Regions from separate parts of the Homo sapiens genome. Here all the other regions are linked to region 3. The links are contacts of gene promoters, found by promoter capture Hi-C in blood cells and fetal thymus (Javierre and others, 2016). All regions are on one chromosome and are shown on one strand. Each heading gives the region's core, a stretch centred on a gene start or on the middle of the fragment in contact. The rest is flanking DNA. Distances are from core to core; before and after follow the strand shown. Region 1 overlaps NKD1 (NKD inhibitor of Wnt signaling pathway 1). Region 2 overlaps NKD1 (NKD inhibitor of Wnt signaling pathway 1). Region 3 holds the start of TENT4B (terminal nucleotidyltransferase 4B).

Region 1 (4,861 bases), core at 261-2,760, 490 kb before region 3:
GCAGCAACCTAGAGACAGTCATGGCAGTGGACGAGATCCCAAGAAGTGAGTCCACGGAGAAGGCCAGGCAGCCAGCACTGAGATCTGAGCAACGCCACTATTTTTAAAATTTTTTTATTTTGAAATAATTATAAATTATCAGAAAGTTGCAAACAAAGCCCAGTCAGGTCCCATGTACCAGTTTCACTGCCACCATCTTTAAAGGAGGATTAGACGAATCTGACTGCTAAAAGTGGCCCAGGGATTCTGGAGAAAATCCAACAGGTTTGCTATCAGGAAAGCAATTTCACTTACAATTCAGGTTTGACTGCAAGTGAAAGTGGTTGAAACAAGTGAGAAGTTGATTGCTTCCTCATATAATAGTCTAAATGTAGGTGTCCAAGCCTGGAATAGAGGTCCTGGTCCTCTAAGTTCTCAGGAACACAGGCTTCTTTTAGCCACTCCACATCTCTAGGGTGTTGTCCTCATGGTCCAAAATGGTGACTGGAATTCCAGCCATCACATCTGCTTTCCAGGCAGCAAAATGGAAGAAGGGGCACAGAAGAACAGAGATGACAATAGGTATAAACAAGCTCTCTTTTTAAAGGAGATTCCCAGGAGCTGCTACATGACACTTACTGTTGACTAGAGTTTAGTCACAAAATTTATTTGCGAAGGAGTCTGAGAACTGTAGTCTTTATTCTTGGGCTCAAAATCAGAGGCTGTATTACAAGGAAGAAAGAGTGTATTCAGGGGAGCAACTAGCTTCCTGTGCACAGAATCCAAGGGCAGAGGGTGTTCTGAAAGGGGGGATGTGTCAGTATCACAAAAACAATCAAGAAGTCAAGAAAGGTAGCAATGAAATGCCCAGTGGATTTAGGGGCAAGAAAGTCCAGTGGCAACTTGGTGAGGATGATGGCAATTATCCATCTGACCCCAGAACCCTTGATTCTGAGTGCCTAATGTTTTCCAGAGTCAGCTTTTGTCTAGTGGATGGGGCAGAAAGACAGAGGTGTTGGAGTTGAGGGTGTTGGACCAAGAGTGCAAATCCAGGCCACAGGTGACAGTACAGCGGCAGGAAGTGGAAATGAGGGAATGAAAGGGACTCTAGGAAGAGCCAAGAGGGACTGACTGTGAGAAGGACAGGAATGAGGACAGAAGGAGACAGCAGAGTGTGTGGCTTCCATGGTGTGGCATTTCTGGGTTCACAGTGGGGCCCAGGAGTGAGTGGCTATAGAAGAGAGAAAAGGAGGCCTTCCTGGTGGTGGGGGCCATAACACTGAGAGATCGGGGTTCAGACACCTGCGGAAATCACCCAGGTTGCTGGCAGGGTGTCAGGTAGAGGTGGACGCTGAGCCTCTGTGGAGTTTTCCCAGTTACTTCAACACCACTCCCAACTTTGCTGCCAAAAGAGCCTGTTTAATGTTCTTGTGGTTGACACCTGCCCCAAACCCTGAATGGTTCCCCCATGGATTCTCAGGAAATGTCCAAACCCCTCACCTTTTCCTTTGAGGTCCTTCTATGATCACCTGGGATGGGTTATGATGCTTTCAACTCTAAGCAACAGGAACCCCAAGTAACAGACACTGCCTGTGCCTGGCTTGTATCCCCTGTAGGAATCATTTCTGTTTGCTGGTCCAATTTCCGACTGCCAGTACCTGCAATTCTGCTGAAGCCTATGCCTATGCACAGAAATAGCCCTTGACCAATGACTGACAAGGATGGGTGGGTAAATACCTCAGCTCCCTCCCTGTGCAGGTGGGATAACTCTGAGGTATGTTCCACGTGGGCTCCTGGAGTGGAACTTCCCTTCCTTTTCTGCCTCACTTCCCCACTCTCCTCCCTGTCTTTCCCAGGACCACCTCAAAATCAACAACCTGCTCCTGAGTCTTCATCTCAGGATCTCCTCCTGAGAAAAACCAAATAACTAAAGTACAGATGCTGGGTGGCTGCCAGGTCATGTATAAGTGCTTGCTCAACATCATTCCCAAGGACCCAGCACTCTCTGTGTGTGCTCTGTGGTCCTCAGGCTGTAGCAAGATGGCCACTACCATGACATGTTACAAGTTCCTCAACAGACTTCCCTTCAGATCTCATTGCCCAGAATAAGGTCACACATGATCTTTCCTGAATCAGTCACTGGCAAAGGTGAGGACTTTGCCATGTCTGGCTTAGACGAATCACCTATGGACAGAAAGGATGATGGGGTCAACTACAGAGACCACACCACCATCCCATCATGTCTTCTAGTATGACTCTACCACTGTAGATATGTAATATAGTGAAAAGAAAGAGCTGGTTGATGCTGCTTGCCAACCAGCTGTGTGTTCTCACGATCTCACATTCATTCATTCATTCATTCAACATGCACATATTGAATGTTGACTGTGTCCCTGCTAGTTACTGGGGCTGGGGATGTGGGAGACAAGAAAAGCACAGAGGGCTGAATGTGGTGGGGTCTGGGTGGCAGAGGCATGACCCTGGGGATATCCTGACCCAGCTGTTTTGCCATCTGAAATGTCCCACCCCACTGTCTTCCCTTCAGGATCATACCTGCCCCCTAGAGCCCCTCTCCTCCAGGAGGCCTTTTCTGATTTTCCCAAACCAGGGGGTCCCATCCTGCCTTGGAGCCCCCTTGGGTGTTCCAGGGTGTTGTTCTGGGCTGACACTGCCTTGGCTGGCTCTGAAGTGTCCTTTCATGCCCATTACGAGTGACAGTGTTCTTGTTTTCCCCATTAAGGCTCCTAGAGGGAGGGCACTGTGTCCCCAGGGCCTGAGCCACAGCCAGGCAGCTCAACCCTGCAGGGCTGACCCACAGCCTGGGTGGACCCGCCCGGCCCCAGTCCCTGCCTCCCAGCACCTGCCACAAGGCCGCCTCCTCCCCACGCCATGTCTCCCATCAATTTCTTCTTTCATAAAAATCAATTTCTGTCCCGTTTTTGCCATGTACATAAAAGACTGTGGCATCAGTTAGCCTTCGTTCTCTCTCCCCCCCCCCTCTTTTTCTTCCTCGTCTTTTTTGGAAACCTCTTTGTAGGGAAAATCTCATATTTCAGCAATTTGCATTATCCACACACTCAGCTTTGAAGTTCTAAGTTATGGTAAGAAAAGGACCCACTTATCTGCCCATAAAAAATGTTCAAAGCTTATAAATTCCCTGAAACAGATGTACATTATCATTGGATTTGCCTTTCTTTTTGCTAGAGCATGCCTAATAGAGTTTCGGCCGCCCCCTGGCCCCCTTCCCCCGCCCCCGTTAGCATCTTGTCTCCACAGAAGCCCGCTCCCCACTGGGCCAGACCGACTTCAAAGGTCCCAGGCTGTCTGTTAGAAGCAAAGCACAAAGTGGGAACATAGGGGCCTTTTAAATCCCCCACGTTTAAGTCAATATCATGCCTCCCTCCTTTCCCCTCTCCTGGCAGAGGGACATAAGTCAGCCCTTCCCTTTCTGCCTTCACGAGAGCCAATTCAGCAACTACCAGAGAGAGGAAATTGGGGCCTCTTTCTCTCCCAGTCTCTCTGTCTTTGCCCTTTCTTTCTTGCCAACTTTTCTTTTTGTTCTTTCCCTCGCTTAAGAAGATGTTCGGCAGCACGGAAGGTAGTGCTGATCCCACATGTAAGCAAGCAAGCGGATCCTTGAGCGCTTTCATGGGTAAGAACGTCATAAACAACGTGCATCCATTCGGTTGCCGTGGGATCCTACCAAGAGAGCCTCCTCTCCGGGCTACTGTTTCCAATCCCTTCTCTGCGTGGTGGTGGCTAGAGTGTCACATCCTCTCTCTCCCGACTGACCACCTAGCTTCCTGATGTGTCTCTTGGGGTGACAAGCAGACTCTCCACCATTCAGGCCCCCAGATTCTGCCCATACCGGGCCTCCTCGTTGCCAGCTGTACCCGGCCATACAGGCCTGCACCAGTTCATCAAGCGTTCACCCTCCATCCACCCTTGAGGCCCTTGTACCAGCTGCTCCCTCTAACTTTCCACCTGGCTAATTCTTCCTCACCCTTGAGGTCACCCCCTAAATGTGGCTTCCTGGAGAGTCCCTCTGCAGTCCCCCATCTCCATCATGTCCCCTCTGTTATTCCCTCCCATGTCTCCCCAGAAGTTATCGCAGTGGATAAAAATGTCGTTTCTGGGTGGAAGCAGTCCCCCCGTCCCCCACACTAGATTAAAGCTCCACAAAGGTAGGTAGAGATGATGTCTGTTTTATCGAGTGCTGAGCATGGTTCCTGACACATAGTACTTGATCACTAAATCTTTGAAAGTACGGATGAACAGAAAGCCTGGAGATGACGGTGGTAAAGGCCAGCCAGGCCTGAGCAGGTCCTTTCTGGGCAGGAAGTGCCAAGTGTGGGTCTCTCTTTGCTCTGCCCACGTCTTGCCCAGAAGCTCAGTTTTGGCAGCTCCTTGCCACTGGGGGGTGGTCACACCACAGAGACTGGCCTGCAGTCTAACTAAACTGCTTAGCAAGACGGGGTGAGATACTCGAATGCCAAATTCTTTCTCCCCAGTGAAGAAAGGAGGGAGGAGGGAAGGAAGGGAAGGCGGGAAGTTCACATGCACCACACTGGAAATATTCTGGCCAGGAATTTCTGGACCAAATCACAATCAGATGCTGCCTTTTGAGGACAGAGTCAGAGGAAACAGAATCAGGTGATGTTGGCTAAGATGGCCAGGGGCCCATCTGGAGAGGATCTGGCCAGGGGACTTGAGCCACTCAGAGTCACCCTGGGCCCCAGTACCTAGATGTGCTGAGAGCCCACAGGCCGAGCCCAGTGACACCATCTGAATATCCCCAGGAGGTTCTGGGTTTCCAGTCTGTCTGCATGCTGTCACCCTTCTCTGGGGGCAGCATCAACATTCCAACAACTCTCAGCATCAG
Region 2 (4,832 bases), core at 1,539-4,038, 410 kb before region 3:
GGGGAGCAATCATCTCAGGGGAACTCCTGAGCAATCAAATGTGATGTCCCCTCTCAACATCTTCTTCTGACAAACGGCAATCACGCCCCTTCCAGGTGCTATTTTCGGCCCCAAAGAAATGGAGACCGGTTTACTGGGAATCTTTCAGAACACAGCAGCAGATCCAGAGGCCTTAAAGGGCTACTGAGTACATCTGCTGGGTGCTCACTGCATGCTAACACTTCAGTGGCCATATGCATTACTTCATCATTTAATCTTTGAAACAACTCCAAACGGTGGGCATTCTGTTCCTCTTTTTATAGGTAAGAAAACTAAGGCCCAGCGTCAACACGGTTCAGTATAAACCCAAGTCTGAAGCCTGGTCCTAAGCTCTATGCACCCCTCAAATTGGGAGATCACATAGGGAAAAAGGAGTGAAGTAATGCAATTAAGTCTTAAAAAAAAAGGGGGGGGGCCATAAAAACTAAAACAGGAGTTCCTAACCTGGGGCCATAGGTGCCCTGAAATTGGAATGACGGATGTAAGAGCATTTATCTAAGGAGAGAGACACAAGAGATTTGGTGGATTCCCAAAAGTGTCTTGTTACTCACTCCTTGAGGGTTAAAAATCATCAACCTATGATCATCATAGAGAGGTCAGAAGCTTGAAAGGAAGGCTGTAACCCAGGTGGGCTGCATGGAGGAGGTGGCAAACCACCTAGGTTCTTCCAAGATCCAATGGCAATGGGTGGGTCAATGGTCAGCTACCTAGCTGCCCTGTCCTTACCCAGCCTTGCCAGCTGCTGACCAGAGCCTTGTTCAGTGATTCTGATTCCAGGGACCAGGCCATCCACAGCTGTTGGCTCCACCCATACAGTGTGCTTTCTACAGCCTTCTCCTCTCAAGTCAGTTTCTCATTAGGGAGGTTCAAGGGATGCGGGGACGGGGGTGATCCCAGCCTCCACTCCAGGACAGGCATGTGACCCAGGACTGTCAGAGGCACAGGGATGGGTTCCGGGATGTGACCCAAGTCAAAACAATGGGAGCTCCGCCTGGGTTTTTGCTGGAACTTTCTTCTCTAACAACTGAAGCTGGGAGTCTGGACTGCTGGGAGCCAAGTTGCCATTACCTGGGAAGGGTGTGCCTAAGGATGAAGCCAATCTAAAAGAAAGCAGAGATGAAGACACAGATTGCTGTCCTGGGACATAGTTTGGGCTGGTGGATCCAGCTGTAACTGAAGTCCACTCCCTGGTTACACAAGCCAAGAACTTGACTGTATGAAACAGTTGACAAGGGCTTGAAATCCAAAAGGTCCCAACGGATCCACAGAGAAAGTTCACACCTACTTAACCACAAGCTCCCCCTGAAGCTGCTTTCCTCCTCGATTTTGTAGACACCAGCCAGAAGGAAAAACTCCAGCTTTGCCAGAAAAATAGCAGAGCCACACCTGGTGATCATATCAGGATGTGCAGTGTGTGTCGGGGGCACAGGGCAAGGGGTGGAAGCAGAAATGCACACTGTTGCTCTAAAGTCGACCACAGGCAGAAGCCCACAAATGATCTAAATGCCCAGTAGTAAGGAATCAATGCAATGATGGTCTATCCTTATAACAGAAGGCTTGATAGCCATGAAGAACAATAAGATTATACATTCTGATATGAAATGATTTCCAAGATAAGTTTAAAAAGTTATGTATTAAGAAAGCAAGGTGCGGAGACAGATGTATACATGAATCTTAAGTTAAAAGAAAATCTTAAGTTAAGGTCTGTATCACTTTTCATTGTAGTTGCTGAGAGACATGGTCTCGCTCTGTCGCTCAGGCTGAAGTGCAGTGGTGCAAACATGGCTCACTGCAGCCTCGAACTCCTGGCCCCAAACCATCCTCCCGCCTCAGCCTCCTAAGTAGCTGGGACTACAGGCACACATCACAAACCTGGCTAGTTTTTTGTTGTTACTGTTGTTATTTTAAGAGATGGGGTCCTGCTACATTGCCCAGGCTGGTCTCAAACTCCTGGGCTCAAGCAATCCTCCCACTCTGGCCTCCCAAAGTGCTGTGATTACAAGCATGAGCCACTGCACCTGGCTTCTATATCACCTTTTTTTTTTTTTTGAGACGGAGTCTCACTCTGTTGCCCAGACTGGAGTGCAGTGGTGCAATCTCAGCTCACTGCAAGCTCTGCCTCCCGTGTTCACACCATTCTCCTGCCTCGGCCTCCTGAGTAGCTGGGACTACAGGCCCACACCTGGGTAATTTTTTGTATTTTTAGTGAAGGAAACACGGGGTTTCACCATGTTAGCCAGGATAGTCTCGATCTCCTGACCTTGTGATCCGCCCACCTTGGCCTCCCAAAGTGCTGGGATTACAGGCATGAGCCACCACACCCAGCCTCTATATCACTTTTTTATGGTTCTCCACCTTAAATGAATTTTTCAATTAACCTGCAAATACCAATGCTTCCTGGTCTTGTTGGCCAAGACAGCTTCTGCTGTCTGTGCAGGGATAAGCATGCACAAACAGAGCATGGCTAGAAGTATCTTGAGGAGCCCACTACAGCAGATACCTCCAAAGGGGGAAGCTGGGAGGTGGAGGTGGGCGGAGGCTTCCTGTGTACTGCATACCTTCAGTACTATTTTGGATTTTCTTTTCTTTTTTTTTTAACCATGCGTACGACTTAATTTACAGAAAGGAAAAAGGTGAGGACCCTTTCTGAAGGGCAGAGGCTCTCTTCAAAGACACAGAACAGCCTGGCTCCATAAAAGAGGTGGGGACTTGGACAGAACAGAACAGAATCCCTGCCTCTCTGGCTGTGTGCCCTCTGGCCAAGCTGCATGGCCCCTCTGAACCTCATCCACCTGGAAAATGTTCTTGAGGATCTGCCATGTGCCAATCAGTGCAAAAGGCCCAGGGATACAAGAGTGAGCCACAAAGAACCTGACCTGTGGACTTTACAGTCTGGCCTCAGTTTCCCCATAATAATAATTTTGATCCTGGCCACATTTTTGTGAATATTAAATGCCTGACAAAGCCCTGTGAGGAAGGCTTTGCAAGCCATAAAGCCCTGGGTAAATCCTGGCTGGAAAACAGCCACCCACTCAATGCTGCTGCCTCCAACTCAGCAGGGAGTTTACCTTCCAGTGCCCCAGACCCAGAGCCAAGAGGACGAGACGCCAGTAGCAGCTGCTGAGCAGAACCTCCAAGGTTAAGAAGGCTAGAAAGGCCCCGATTTGTGACATCACAAGAAGGTGCTCTGATCCAACCATCTAGAAGGAAGACCATGATCATTCCCCACCATGGCCATGGCTGCGGCCAGCCAGGGCTAACCAAGCCTGAACACAGCTATGTTACAAGGAAGGGGGCTCTGGACAGGCCCCAAAGACGGTTAACCAGTACTTCCTGTGGGGGAGAGCTTTCTTTCCATGACCACCTGCTGTGAATCACTCCTTTGCACTCCTTTGACGCCTCCCTGCCCACTGAGGATGGAGTTTAGCCTGACACACAGGGTCTTCTCCATGCATCCAGGGCTGTGCCCACTGAGGATGGAGTTTAGCCTGACACACAGGGTCTTCTCCATGCATCCAGGGCTGTGCCCACTGAGGATGGAGTTTAGCCTGACACACAGGGTCTTCTCCATGAATCCAGGGCTGTGCCCACTGAGGATGGAGTTTAGCCTGACACACAGGGTCTTCTCCATGCATCCAGGGCTGTGCCCACTGAGGATGGAGCTTAGCCTGACACACAGGGTCTTCTCCATGCATCCAGGGCTGTGCCCACTGAGGATGGAGTTTAGCCTGACACACAGGGTCTTCTCCATGCATCCAGGGCTTGCCCACTGAGGATGGAGTTTAGCCTGACACACAGGGTCTTCTCCATGCATCCAGGGCTGTGCCCACTGAGGATGGAGTTTAGCCTGACACACAGGGTCTTCTCCATGGGTCCAGGGCTGTGCCCATTGAGGATGGAGTTTAGCCTGACACACAAGGTCTTCTCCATGGGTCCAGGGCTGCGCCCACTGAGGATGGAGTTTAGCCTGACACACAGGGTCTTCTCCATGGGTCCAGGGCTGTGCCCACTGAGGATGGAGTTTAGCCTGACACACAGGGTCTTCTCCATGCATCTAGGGCTGTGCCCATTGAGGATGGAGTTTAGCCTGACACACAGGGTCTTCTCCATGGGTCCAGGACTGTGCCCACTGAGGATGGAGTTTAGCCTGACACACAGGATCTTCTCCATGCGTCCAGGGCTGTGCTGTCCAATGAGGTAGCCACTAGCCTCATGGGGCTATTTAAGTTCACATTTAAATTCATTCAAATAAAATATATCTTAAAATTTAGGCAGTCTCTGAGTCCCAGTGGTCACATTCTAAGCCACAGGTTCCCAGAGGGGACAATGCAGACACAGAACATTTCCATCATCAGAAAGTTCTACTGGTCAGCACAGTCTAGAGGTCACTTCTACAGCCCCTTCTTCTACCCATTCTACGGCGGGGGGGGGGGGTGGTGGTGGGACCTAGCAGCCCTTTCAAGAGAGGCAGGTGTCAGTGACTGCCAGGGTAGCTCTAAATCCGCTTGCAAGTTTAAGCAGCCACAGTTATGGGGATGTGGGAAGAGGAGAGAGAACCATGGAGCGAGAGCTTGTCATGAGTGAGGGCCTGCACTGGCTTCTCTGTAGGGTCGCTCATTAGGTCCCGCTACACTACAAATGGGGAGTGCCCTCCTCCCCCCTCATCCCTCTCCAACTCCTGCACCCTCCTCTCTCCTTTCCTTCAGGGTCCAGTCGGCCCAGCTGTTGCCTAGTACAGAAAGGTTCTGACTCAGGCTCAGGAAACCCCAAGGAGTCTACATTTTGAATAGCAC
Region 3 (4,859 bases), core at 691-3,190:
AAAACAAATAAGATTCAGTGACCTATTCCAGCACAGGGACTCTTCTGAAGGGAGATCTAGTTGGAAACATTCCCTGCTTATGTACATAATTCACTAGGGGTCAGGTAAGATTCCATTTTCTAAGAGCTGAACTTTAAACAGAAAGTCACTAGTGGTGCAATATTCACTCATTAGCATAAATCTCTACCCCCTAGAATGAAAAGCATTGGCTGCCTCTGCCAGGATGACAACTTTACAGTGAGAAGCTGGAGCCGCGGACCATGAACTCCTGGAAAGTTCTATCAGGGCCTCAGAAGGGCTCACCACCTTCACCAGCCTAAACTTAGTGGTCACCCATCCCACGCCACCCTCTGCATAGACAGGGCATCTGTGACATGGGAATTTTTTAAAAATAAAAAGATGGGCCAAAGGGTCAAGAGCAGGCAATGCCTTACAGGGCTGACATAATTGCTGTCTGGGATTGGGGGATGGGGAGGAGCATTCTGGATGTTTCTATTCTTGGCAAGGAAAGCACCTCCGGGTCCTGCACCATCAAAAAACACTCACACACCAATGTTCTCAGGGAATGAATGATAGGCCCGTGCTAAGCGGTCTCATCTTGAGTTGTGATGATGGGGAAAAAGGTGTGGAGGGCTGGAGGCGGGGTGGTGGTCAAGGGTAGATGTGTTTAACTAAGGGGGATGGGAGGAGAGTGAATGGATAAAGGGGGGGGCCTGGGGAAGGTGTGGACGGTTAAGAGGGAGGGGAGGAAGGTGTGGACGACTAAGGGAGGACAGGAGACGGAGGGTGTGGACGGCTAAGGAGGCTTGGGGAAAGGTGTGAACGACTGGGGGGTTGGGGATGGCCAGCAGCACCCCCGTGCAACAGCAGCGAAGGCAGGCCGTGGGGGTGGCCGCTCCTAGACCCTCACAACCCCCCTCTGTGGGCGTGTGCCCGGCTGCGCATTCGCACCGGCCAGGCCATCGGGCCGCAGAGCCAGCACTCACCCCACGACTCCCTGGTTGTAGTTCCTCCGTTTCCACGGGGTCCCGCTGTACACGACCCCGCCGCCGTCTGCTCGGCCGCCCCCCGCGGCCCGCCCTCCGCTGGGCTGCAGCAGGCTGTAGTTGAGTCCATACGTGCTGGCCTTGTTGTCGCGCTTCCTCTTGTTGCTGCTGCCCGAGGCCGAATCGGCTGGATCGGCGGCGGGGACGGCGGCCGAAGGGTGCGGGGACGAGGACGCCGAGGGAGGCGAGGACGCCGAGGAGCCCGCCCGGCGGGCCCAGGCCCCGGGCTGGTGGTGGTTGTTGTTGTTGTTGGTCGTCTCTAGGGGCAGGAAGTCCCGCTGCTCCGCGGGCAGCGCGTGGCTGCCCAGCAGGCGCTCCCCGGAGCGATACATGCCGGCCGGGGCCGGGGCCGGGGCCGAGGCCGCGCCGCCGGGGCTGCCGGTGCTGCTGCCGCTCCCGCCGGTGGCCGTGCTGCTGCTGCTGCTGCTGCCGCCGCCGCCGCTCGCGCCGCCGCTGCTGTGACAGTGGTGGTTGAAGTAGAGGTTCCTCAGCCCCTGGGTCGTCTCCCAGATCTGCATCCACAGACTGTTGGACGGTCCGAGCTGCTCTGGCTGAAACCAGGCGATCCTCGGATCCATCAAACGGCGGCGGCCGCTGCCCCCGCCCCTCCCGGCCGCCCGCAGGGCCGCCGCCGCCGCCGCCTCAGGCGCACGCCCGGCCTCGGCTGCTGCTGCTGCTGCCGCTGCTGCCGCTGCTGCTGCTGCTGCTGCTCGGGGCCCGCCGCGGGCGGCGCGGTCGCGCAGGGAGCCCGGCCGGCGCCGGCGGCGTCGCTCCCGCCCTCGGGGGCTCCGCGGGCCCTCCCCCCCTCCCTCCGCCCCTCCGCCCCTCCGCCGAGCCCCTGTCACTGGGGTCCCCGTGCAAATGGCGGCGGCGGCGGCGGCGGCTCCACAGAAGAGCGAGCGGCGGCGGCGGCAGCGGCGGCAGCGAGACGCGCCTGCTCCGTAGCGTCCTCGCTCCTCCGGCCCCGGGGCGGGGCCTCTGCCGGCTCCGCCCCTCTCGCTCCGCCCCCCCCCCCCACCGCCCCGCCCTCACGCGCTCGCCCCGCCCCCGCTGCGCCGCGCAGCAGCCCGGGAGGCCTCGCCGTGCGTCACAGAGGCCGCGGCGCGACGGGGCCGCAACCGCCTGGCCCAACCGTACTTGCGCCATCTGTGGAGTGCTCCCACGTACCTGGGCGTCCGGGAGCTTCTGAGGCGCGCGCGGCTTCTCCGCCTCGGCTTCCCCGGTGCTGAGCGTGGACGAGGCCGCATGGAGGTTGCCGCCCGCCCCGCAGGGAGCGCGTTGTGGGAGGTGCCACTCCGCCCCTCGCTCCTCGCCCCTCCCATCCCTGTGGCCGCCGGATCCCGGGCCCTCGCAACCCTTCCTGACGTCTTGGCTTCTGCCTGCTTTCTAAAACACTTTCTTTTTAAAAAAAAAAAAAAAAAAAAAAACAGCCTATAACACTTTTTCTGGTGGCGTGGGGACACGCCCCCTGCCCGAGCGTGTGCCCCGGGGTCCTGACGCGGGCTGCGCGAGACCCTGCACGGCTACGTGTGCCCCGCCCTGCTGCGCCCTGGCCGGGGTGGGGGACCCCTCACCCCGGCCTGAGGCCACAGAAACCTGTACCCCATGCATAGCCCTGGGGGAGACCACTAAGACTGAGAGTGTGAGCCAAGGGCGGAAAGCCGCAGCCGCACACTCAACCCACTTTACAGGGACACGCAAACACGTGTAGATGCACAGAGAAGCAGACACACTCCTGCGCGGCGTAGCAAAGACGCTCTCCTGCCCTAAGGTGCACCAACAGCCTTAGAAAGCTCTTCTGAGTTCAGCATTAAATTTTAAGAAAACCCAAAACCTTTTAATCCTAAAATGAAGATTTAGCATCAGCAAAGATTGTCCACTAGGTCGTTATTTGCATGTCTTTCAAATCTCAGTGGTTAAAAAGCCAAGGAAAGGGGAATGTTAAGTATTTTAAATCAAGAGACTAAAAGAAAGTAAGTGAACAGCTTCTATGTGGGCCCTTTAAGGTTGGTCCAACGTCCAGAACAAGTCCCTGATGCCTGATATTGGCCTTCCATTTTGGGAGCTCAATATCCTGGAAAGTTTTTATGACAAATAGTGGAAAACTATCAAAGAACTAAGTGTCGCTCTACCTTTTTCTTTCTTTCGAGACTAACTCTTGCTCTGTCATCTGGAGTTCAGTGACTCATTCACAGCTCACTGCAGGCTCGGCCTCTTGGGTTCAAGCGATCCTCTTGCCCCAGCCTCCGAGTAGCTAGGACTATAGGCACGCGTCAACATGGCATAGAGACGAAGTTGCTCTGCGCTGCCCAGGCTGGTCTGGAACTCCTGGACTTAAGCGATCCTCCTACCTCAGACTCCAAAACTGCTGGGATTACAAGGGGGTGAGCCACCACGCCTGACCTTACTTTTTTTTTTTTTTTTGGTAAGAGAATAAATAGCACGACCAGAAATACGGAAAACACACAAAGACCCTTCAGCTGCAAACAACAGCTTCCTTGGTAGTTTATGCAGCCTGTTTCTTGTATGGGCTGCTCTAAGGGACCATGGAGACAGGCCTTTCAGATGTATGTTCATGTCTTTGACCTTGCACTACGCCAATGTAGGCTCCAGGCAGATATTCGAGGTGCCTTTGAAAAGCTCCAGGGCACTGTGGCCAGGGTTCACATTGGCCAAGTTATCATGTCCATCTGCAACAAGCTGCAGAATAAGGAGCATGTGATTGAATCCCTGCTCAGGGCCAAGTTCAAGTTCCCTGGCTGCCAGAAGATCCACATTTCAAAGAAGTGGGGCTTCACCAAGTTCACTGCGGATGAATTTGAAGACATGGTGGCTGAAAAGCGGCTCATCGCAGATGACTGTGGGGTCAAGTACATCCCCATCATGGCCCTCTGGACAAGTGGCGTGCCCTGCCCTCGTGAGGGCTTCCACTGTGCTGCCCCCTCTTAATACTCCCCAGTAAATCCTACTTCCTGTCCACCAAAAACAAACAAAAAAAACCCTTCGGAATTTTGATTCATTCAATTTGATTGTTGCTGTTGCTTTACTAGAAATCAGTATTAAAAGTTTTCTCTGTCCGGGGGCGGTTGCTCACACTTGTAATCCCAGCGTTTTGGGAAGTCAAGGCAGGCAGATCACCTGAGGTCGGGAGTTCGAGACCAGCCTGACCAACACGGAAAAACCCCATCTCTACTAAAAATACAAAATTAGCCGGGTGTGGTGGCGCATGCCTGTAATCCCAGCTACTTAGGAGGTTGAGGCAGGAGAATCACATGAACCCAGGAGGTGGAGGTTGTGGTGAGCCGAGATCTCGCCATTGCACTCCAGCCTGGGTGACAGAGCGAGACTCCATCTCAAAAAAAAAAAAAAAAAAAAGTTTTCCCTGAATGAAATTTGCTATGTACTAATTATTACATAGCCAGGAAAATAAGTAGCCGTATTTTTTGTGTTATTTACACTGACAAAAATAAAACATTGTATAGAAATAGATTTTGTTTGCTGACCTCATATTTGTTTTAAAAATTGAATCTCTGGCCGGGCGTGGTGACTCACACCTGTAATCCCAACATTTTGGGAGGCTGACGCGGGCAGATCATGAGCTCAGGAGTTCCCGAGACCAGCCTGGCCAATGTGGTGAAACCCCGTCTCTACTAAAAATACAAAAAATTAGCCGGGTGTGGTGGCACATGCCTGTAATCCCAGCTACTTGGAAGGCTGAGGCAGGAGAATCATTTGAACCTTGGAGGCAGAGGTTTTGGTGCGCCGAGATCGCGTCATTGCACTCCAGCCTAGGTGACACAGTGAGACTCTGTC

The links. The method cuts DNA at HindIII sites, captures the fragments that hold promoters and counts their contacts. A CHiCAGO score of 5 or more calls a contact.
Region 1: a fragment that was not itself captured here is called in contact with the fragment with the promoter of TENT4B in region 3 in 4 of 17 cell types (total B cells, neutrophils, total CD8 T cells and 1 more); the score reaches 6.5 in total B cells.
Region 2: a fragment that was not itself captured here is called in contact with the fragment with the promoter of TENT4B in region 3 in 1 of 17 cell types (naive B cells); the score reaches 6.7 in naive B cells.

What each region holds. Positions count from the first base shown.
Region 1 is chr16:50,644,487-50,649,347 of GRCh38, reverse strand. It overlaps NKD1 (NKD inhibitor of Wnt signaling pathway 1), which reads right to left. Exons shown (of 10, transcript NM_033119.5): 10 at 99-4,861. Among named protein-coding and RNA genes, the nearest start is that of NKD1-AS1, 33 kb to the right of the region's middle. RefSeq lists an enhancer at 2,268-2,786. The HindIII fragment of the contact is 3,232 bases long and covers 1-3,126 here.
Region 2 is chr16:50,562,628-50,567,459 of GRCh38, reverse strand. The region is part of intron 3 of NKD1 (NKD inhibitor of Wnt signaling pathway 1); the gene reads right to left. Among named protein-coding and RNA genes, the nearest start is that of NKD1, 17 kb to the right of the region's middle. The HindIII fragment of the contact is 4,288 bases long and covers 645-4,832 here.
Region 3 is chr16:50,150,387-50,155,245 of GRCh38, reverse strand. TENT4B (terminal nucleotidyltransferase 4B) reads right to left here and starts at 1,940. Exons shown (of 12, transcript NM_001365324.3): 1 at 987-1,940. The coding sequence starts at 1,624. It also overlaps the pseudogene RPL10P14 and the pseudogene LOC124900375. RefSeq lists enhancers at 240-289, 1,927-2,884 and silencers at 1,101-1,270, 1,391-1,440, 1,621-1,720, 1,951-2,110, 2,221-2,390 and 1 more. The HindIII fragment of the contact is 13,709 bases long and covers 1-4,859 here.